3 separate regions of the Homo sapiens genome follow, and regions 1 and 3 are each linked to region 2. The links are contacts of gene promoters, found by promoter capture Hi-C in blood cells and fetal thymus (Javierre and others, 2016). All regions are on one chromosome and are shown on one strand. Each heading gives the region's core, a stretch centred on a gene start or on the middle of the fragment in contact. The rest is flanking DNA. Distances are from core to core; before and after follow the strand shown.

Evidence for each region. Contacts are between HindIII fragments. The CHiCAGO score rates a contact against its expected background, and 5 or more counts as called.
Region 1: a fragment that was not itself captured here is called in contact with the fragment with the promoter of ASF1A in region 2 in 1 of 17 cell types (total CD4 T cells); the score reaches 5.7 in total CD4 T cells.
Region 3: a contact is called between a fragment that was not itself captured here and the fragment with the promoter of ASF1A in region 2, in 1 of 17 cell types (M0 macrophages). The highest score is 8.1, in M0 macrophages.

The regions. Positions count from the first base shown.
Region 1 is chr6:117,552,449-117,555,148 of GRCh38, reverse strand. It overlaps a transcript of DCBLD1 not described here. Among named protein-coding and RNA genes, the nearest start is that of GOPC, 49 kb to the left of the region's middle. The HindIII fragment of the contact is 6,555 bases long and covers 1-2,700 here.
Region 2 is chr6:118,892,894-118,895,593 of GRCh38, reverse strand. ASF1A (anti-silencing function 1A histone chaperone) reads right to left here and starts at 1,442. Exons shown (of 4, transcript NM_014034.3): 1 at 1,072-1,442. The coding sequence starts at 1,180. The region is part of intron 8 of MCM9 (minichromosome maintenance 9 homologous recombination repair factor); the gene reads left to right. RefSeq lists silencers at 248-777, 1,568-1,707 and an enhancer at 1,158-1,247. The HindIII fragment of the contact is 9,487 bases long and covers 1-2,447 here.
Region 3 is chr6:117,500,385-117,503,084 of GRCh38, reverse strand. The region is part of intron 1 of DCBLD1 (discoidin, CUB and LCCL domain containing 1); the gene reads right to left. Among named protein-coding and RNA genes, the nearest start is that of DCBLD1, 19 kb to the right of the region's middle. The HindIII fragment of the contact is 8,436 bases long and covers 1-2,700 here.

The DNA.
Region 1 (2,700 bases), core at 63-2,562, 1.3 Mb after region 2:
AAAATCTAAACAAACCAATTTCCATAGGAAAAATTGAAGGAATTGTCAAAGTGCTCTCCCCACAAATTACCAAAATACATGATTTCACAGGGCAATGCTACTAAACGTTCAAACAACAGCTAATTCTAATGCCTAGCAAGAGAACCAAAAAAGGGAAGAAAAATTCTAAATTGTTTCTGTCAAGCTAATAATATCTGATCAAGATTGCCACAAAGAAAGAAAAGCCCTGATTCACAAAAGATTTTTTTTTTTTTTTTGCAACTGAGTCTCGCTCTGTTGCCAGGCTGGAGTGCAGTGACTCGATCTCGGCTCACTGCAACCTCCGCCTCCCAGGTTCAAGCGATTCTCCTGCCTCAGCCTGCCGAGTAGCTGGGACTACAGGCACAAGCCACCACTCCCGGCCAATTTTTATATTTTTAGTAGAGACAGGGTTTCACCATGTTGGCCAGGACAGTCTCGATCTCTTGACCTCATGATCCGCCCGCCTCAGCCTCCCAAAGTGCTGGGATTACAGGCATGAGCCACTGCACCTGGCCCACAAATGAATATTAATGTAAAAATCCTAAGTAAAATCCTATCCATGCAAATTTAATACAGTAATGGATTCATATCTATAACCAGATGTTTAACATTGGGACATCTAATTATGTAATTAATCATCTGACTGGCTCTAGGGAGGAGTCCTATGGAGGAAAATCATATTTTCCATAGATGCTGAAAAGACTTTGCTCAAAATTAAGCACATTCCTTGTGAGGGGGAAAAAAAGGAATAAATAGATGCTTTCTTAACATAATAAAGTTTACCTCAACATAATAAATCTATCTCTGCCTAAAAGCCAGCATCATGCTAAGGTGGGAGCTACTAGAAGTATTTAATATGGTACTGGAAGTATTGCCAATAGAATTAAATGTACACATAAATATTGGAAAGGAGATAGCACTAGCACTATTTGCAAACGTGATCAAATTCCAGAAAAACCTAAGAGAATCAACTAAAAGCTACTAGGAATAATAAGGACATTTAGTAAAGGAGCAGCATACAAATTAGTCACAGAAATCGAACAGGAAGGCTGCATATAATAGCTAACACCACGTGGCACTTATCATGGGTCAGACACTGTTGTAAGGGTTTTATGTACATTAATCCTTGTAATCTTCACCACAACCCTATAAGGTATATACCATTATTATCTCCATTTAGAAATAAGGAAATGGAGTCATAGAAAGTAAGTCCTTCTTGGTCACAACTAAGGCAGAATTTGAGCCCAGGGAGTCTAAGCCCCAGAATCCATGCTTTTTACCACTAGGCCATACTAGTTCTTGATACATAAAAGAGGAGGTGGGGACAATTTACAATGGCAGCAACAACAAAAAAAACACCTAAGTACAAATTAAACAAAAAATGTGCAGTACTTATGTGAGCACCCTTTAAAATCCCCTGAAAGGATGCAAAAGGGGCTTGAACAAATGGAAAGGGATACTACGTTTTGTGTACCTATATAACTGACTAAAAACTACATTAGAAAAAGAATGAATGGAAATAAGGCAGACAAAAATTCCAAGAAGAGATCACTGTTCGAAGAAAGACAATAGGTAATTAGAAGGGCTTAGTATATTAAGGGAGAATTCTTTATACTTGGGAGAGATTTGAGGAAGTTTAAAGGCTGAGGGGGAGACCTCCAATGAAAGGAAGAAGAAGATAAAGGAAAAAGGGATAATAGGAGCAAAGAGATAAGGGGAAGGCAGTGGGATTTAAGATCACAGATGAAGGTTTCTAACACTTTTTCCATTGACACAGGAAGGAAGGAGGAAAGGAATGAAGTGGATACAGGTTTTGTGAGAAGAGGAATCAGCAGGAAGTTAGTTCTGATTTTAACGACTTTTATTTTTAGGTGAAGGAAGTGGCAAGATCAGAGTAAGGGAGAGTGTGAAAAGTGGCACTGCTTTGGAATAATTGCTAAGGGGTACGGAAAAAGGGATCAAAGATAAATAAAAGCGTTGAGGAGTGATGGGCCCCCAGTAAACTGGAAACCGAGCTTTTGTAACAGCCACAGTGTGAATAGTTCTGCAATGTTCCCCTGCTGCTGTGATGAAGATGGAGAGATGGTATTCTCAAGGGGAATTATGTTGTTGGGGTCTCATGGTTCGGGGCTCCTGGAAAGAAAATGGAGTGAAAATGCTGAGACAAACCAGTTCGATGATGGATAGGGAAGGAAATGCAACCCAAAAGGATTAACAACTAGAGGAAAATGATGGGATCTAGGGGTTTGGTATCTAAATGAGATCAGTGACTAAGTAGGTGGAAAGCTGAAGAACTCAGGGGGTTTTGAGCTGATAGAGAATTGCTGGAGATTAGGTTTACAGTGCTGGGGTTCTTGCTGATGACAAGAATGTGGACATGTGTGGGAGTGGTTTAAATGGAAAGCAGGTTACTAGAGTGGAAGTCAAGAAACCATAAAAATGACCATGTTGGGCACTTCATTCTCTAGCATGATTACAAAGGAGGAATGAAGAAGACCTAGAATTAGGTGAATGTCCTCAATGAATGGAAAAAAGTGGCCTGGAAGATATTAGGTGTCACAGCAAAAAGAAAAAGGTGGTAGAGCTAGGTGAGAAAAAAAGGGAGAGCTTTGAATGGTGGTGAAAAAGTAAAAAAGGATGTGGAAGTAGTCTGTTGGGAGGAGGGTGTGTGCCACAGTT
Region 2 (2,700 bases), core at 193-2,692:
AATACCAAGAATTCTTGGACTGACATGAGGAGTTGACCTTAATTTCCTAGCCTACGTTTGTGTTTTATGTTTAGGGTGTGTTCTGTATTTGGATGTGGAGTTATTTTAGATTTCAACACGGTCTTGAAGAAAGTCTTCCTTCAGACTATTTATAAGGCAGAGATTAAGTCCTGGAAATTATTTAAGTATCTTATTTCTGCTTTTAGGTTAAATGTAACTTCCTACCTCAGCTCTATTTCTCTTCCTGAAATTAGCTTTTCGTCATTAGGGGAAAGGAGTCCACGTTGGTTGGGGAGCCTGCGCGCCAGCATCCCGGCGCATCCCGGGCGCCGGCCGAGGAGGACCGGCCGAACAGGACCCACGGCCCCCGGGGAGCGCCGGCGCCCAGCCCGCGGCGCGGAGGGGCCGAGCCTGCGCCCGCCTCCCCCGCTGGTTGGTCGAGGAAGCCAGAAATCAGCGCGAGGACAGCCTCGCTCTCCTCCCCGAAGCGGCCAGGCATGGCCAGCCCGGAGAGTGCGGCGACTCCACCGTGAGCTCTCGAGAGTGCCTGCCTGCCTTTCGCCGGGGGCAGGCGGGCGGCGGGGCAAGAGGAGGCGCCGTGCGCCGGGGTCGCTGGCCCAATTCTCGACTCGGGGTAAGATGGCTCCGCTCCGAACTCGCCGGCGCGACCACACGCACAGCCTCTCCCTTCCCAGCCTCCGTGCTCGGGCCCGGAGGGTCGCGGAGGCTGTTGGCGGCGCGGAGCCAGCCCGGCGCGACCTCAGGCGGCGCAGCGGGAGCGAGTGCGGGTCTCCGAGCTGCCCGCCCGCAGACAAAGCTGACAACATGGCTACCTCCGCTCCTCCGCTCAAACAAGTTCCTCGCAAGTTGAGCCCGGCAGGCGCCTGGGCTGCGGCGGAAAGCCGCGCGCGCCTCGGCGGCCGTCGTCCATCAACTTCAAGTTTCCCTCCGCAGAGCAGCCCGCGGCCGCCAGGCGCCGAACACAGCCGCCCAGCGCGAGGCCCGGCCCGGGAAACTTTCAACGTCTGCAGCCCGCAACTGACAGCCCGGGCGCACGGGCGCCGCACTCACCTTCAGACAGGTCCTCGATGCACTCGAAGGTGATCTCGAACTGGAACGGGTTGTAGAAAGGAGAAGGGTTATCCAGCACCACTACATTGTTCACCTGAACCTTTGCCATATTTTGAAAAAAACACAAACAATGGGAACTGGGGCTGGTTGCGGCACAATAAAGTCCAGCGCGCGGCCGCTCGGGAGAGCGCAGACCCCCGCTCCAGCGCCGGCCAGACGTCGTGCAGCGGCGACTTGAGAAACTTTTTTCCTCTTTTTATTTACACGGGAGCACTCCACAGTGTTTTGCAGCTTTCCTATTTCACTAAACTACAGCCCATTCTGCTCTGATAAGTAGCAGCGTTGCCCTCGATTGGCTGCACCCGAGTTCTGACCCTCCTCCTCCAGCGAGGGCCTCGGCAGCCAGCAAGATGGGCTCCCGCTCCCGGAATGGACTCGGAAACTTTAACTGCGGCTCCACCTGCTGGTGTGGATTAGGACAAAGGCGGAGAACAAAGTGAGTGGAATAAGGGCTGGGAGGCCCGCGCGGAGGCCGCCGGCGGCGGCGCGGAGAGGGGCGGAGGGGGCGTGGCCGCGGCGGGGAGGCGTGGCTGCGGCGGGAGGGCGCGATCCGGCCGACGCCCGCCCCTCCAGTTGGCTTCGTGTGGGTGTTTTGGCGTTTTTTTGTTTTTTTTTTTGTTTTTTTGGTTTTTTGATTTAACGCTCTTTTTACATCAGTGCAACAGCTTTGCCGGCCTTGCTGAATTTAGCAGATGAGAGTCGGTGTTTACACTGGGTTAGGTTCAGCTTTCTGCGTATCGGGTAGTATTTGGAGTAGAGAGAAAGATTGGCTGCAGGGGAAATAAATTGCATGTTATAGACCGATGTCAGCTCGAAAGGAGCAAAGCCATTTTGGAAATCTAGCTCTTGGCCAGTATCTACGTTTAGGCACGACAGCGCCGTTAAGCAACACAAAATGAAGGGCGAGGAATGATTTTCTACACACTGTGCTTGGAAAATTTAAATAGGTAACCTTTGGGCTTGCACCTGGGCGTCTTCTTCGGAGTCCAGATCTGGGAAGTCCTAGAATAAAAAAAAATCACAAGAGGTGTGATCAGTTATACTTCAGGTTACTGCCATTTGGAGAGCATAGCAGGAACATAAAAGGAGAAAATGGAAGTGTTAGGAGACCAACAGGGCAACAAACGTAATAGAGATGGGAAAAAGAACACAAAGACATAGCAAGACATTTGATCTTCAAAAAAATTTCTGACCTAAACCGTTAGTAAAGCAAATTCTGAGGAGCCCTTGCTTGCCTGTAACCAGTTGAGGTCTGAACTGAGGAAATGTTGATTCGTTTATGCTGCTTGGCTACCATTGCGGGGAAAGAGAAAGCTTTAACATATTTGTGAGCCTAAACCGTTTCTATTTAGTAAGTGGTATAAAGGTTTGTTTTATTATCTGCTAGCCATAAACCATCATTTTTTTCCTTAAATGTTGTGAATGAAACCACCAAACTTGGCCAAATTCAGAGAGAAAATTAATTCTTAAGTATGTGTTCTGGAAGAGTTTTCTCTTAGTATAGTGCCCAGAATTTTGATTTGTCATTCTTTGGTCATTGTTCATACTTAAGTAGGTGGCTTTTGATGA
Region 3 (2,700 bases), core at 127-2,626, 1.4 Mb after region 2:
CTCAGAGTAAAATGGCAAATAGTCACACATTCAAATAACTATAATTCTAGGTGCTATGTGTTATATATACATCAGGGGTCTAAACAAAATGCAAAGGAGAGAGGCAAGAAAGAATGTTGCAGCGAATTACCAGCATTTCATCAAAACAAGAAATTATCTGAAGACTTTTCTGAATAGGGAAGTTCACCTATTAACCTACAAGTTGCTCTAGTTGATTGAAGTGACTTAGTCAATCACACAACTATCCAAGGACATGCACAACTGGGTGGGCTGCAAGGAGAATGAGCATACACTGCATTCAGATTGCAAAATGTCTGTGGTTAGCACAGCTTCACATAAATGAAGCAAAAATTTCTGGTCTCAGCTGGAGGGAGAGAAGCAGAAAGCTGTTGAAGAAGGAACTCTCAAAGGTAGTAAAAGAAGGCCTCTCCATCCCAAAGTCTCTGATGGAGAAGCCTCACCTTGGGTATACTGTGAATCTGAGGACCTCAAAGCAGCCCTCTTCCCTCCCAGCCTCTTCCCCAGTTAGAGGTGGATTCAGGAGTCTTCCTTTATTCCACTTCCTTCTTGCCTTGAGGTGTTGGGGCCAAATGGTAATAGAGGTTTATTAAAAAATAAAAAGAAAAAAGAAAAAGATTTGAAAACTCCAGAATCTACATCATCTCAACAGCCAAGGCCTAGGGAAAGGATCTACCCATTATCCAGAAACTCCCACGAGATTCCTGGCAGCCCCTGACAGAGGGCTGAATTGGGGAAATAGAGTTGGCTTTAATGGACCAATGGGTTAAGAAGTGCCGGGGGGAACTTTAGACAGCCAAGATAAAACTACTATGAAGCCCTGAGATCTAGGCAGAATTAGTGAAATTTACATGGTAGGCAACAAAGACACATAGAATTTTTTGAGTAGGAAGATAACGAAACAGGTATTAGAAAAAGATGATCAACCTGGCTGGACAACGCTACAGGAACTAGAATGGGGACAGAATCTGGATCAGAGGAGCAGTAGGCAGGCTAGCAATGGGGGTAGCTGGAACAGGAAGGAAGGGAACAGAAAACAGGCAAATTCTTGAGACAAAATCAACAGACTCAGGTTTGGGGGAACTATGGTGAGAAGAACAAAGGAGAAAAAACACCAAGGCCTTGTTCAGTCCAGAAATGATTGCAACACAGAGGCCAATATAGACAGCAAAAAGAGTCCAGAGAGGGAGCAGGTTTGGGCCCAAAGGTTGTAAGTTTGGTTAAGTTTGAGGTGACGGCTAAATTCCTTGGGCTCCCTGGCAGTTGGTAAACACAAAATTGCCAAGAATTAAATGAAAATGATACAAGAGAGAAGCATAGTGTGCAGGAGCACACAGTGCACGGGGCTTTGATTTGAAATCTGAATTATTTGTCGGCTTTAAAGGGCTTTAATAAAATATCCAATTTATAGTTTCTCTTTAAAACTGAAGGACAAACTGGGAGTGGTGGCTCATGCCTGTAATTCCAGCATTTTGGGAGGCCAAGGCAGCGGATCACCTGAAGTCAGGAGTTCGAGACCAGCCTGACCAACATGGTGAAACCCTGTGTCTACTAAAAATACAAAAATTAGCTGGGCATGGTAGCGCGAGCCTGTAATCTCAGCTACTCGGGAAGCTGAGGCAGGAGAATCGCTTGAACCCAGGAGGCAGAGGTTGCAGTGAGCTGAGATCATGCCACTGAACTCCAGCCTGGGCAAGAGTGAGATTCCGTCTCAACAACAACAACAACAACAATGACAACTGAAAGACGTGACAACCACATGATCAGGCATTCTCACAGGGCTAGTGACACAGTGGCTGTCCCTTGAAAGGAGCCAAACACCCTAGTTCTTCACCAGGTCCTTGTTACTCATTTCTGTTACCTGCCCTACCTTTGTAAGCATTTATTTTGAGCACCCTCATAAAGCAATCCTAGGGTAATTAGTACAAACAAATATGCATCTCAATATAAACACAACACAACCTCTCCAAGCCACCAAAAAATCTCCTGATCAAATATTTAAATGTCACTTTTCTTAGGACTATGAAATTCTCCTTTCATAAAAGAGGAAGAGAAAAACTTTTTTTTTTTCAGAAAACAGTTAAATATGAAATAAGGAGCAATTATATGAGTCAACCTACATGTGACTATCATATTCTAAATTTTATTTTTTTAAAGTGACATGTGTCAGCAAAAGAAAATCTTAGGGTGTCACTGTTTTTTTTGAGACGAAGTCTCACTCTGTCGCCCAGGCTGGAGTGCAGTGGCAGGATCTTGGCTTACTGCAGCCTCTGCCTCCTGGGTTCAAGCGATTCTCCTGCCTCAGCCTCCCGAGTAGGTGGGACGACAGGTGCATTTACGTACGGCTAATTTTTTTGTATTTTTAGTAGAGACGGGGTTTCACCGTGTTAGCCAGGATGGTCTCGATCTCCTGACCTCATGATCCACCCACCTCGGCCTCCCAAAGTGCTGGGATTACAGGCGTGAGCCACCGCACCCGGCCAGGGTATCACTTTTATTCAGCCCTGTAATTGTATTTCTTTCCGACCACTTCCACTGTAAGGCCTAAGAGGAAACTTCTTTCACCCAGCAATGCTGGCACAATGCAGGCAAGTTCAAATCGTCAACATTCCCATCGTTACTTTGCCTGGGGATCTCTACCTCCTTGGGAAAATTTCTCTCTTCCATTAACTATCAGAACAA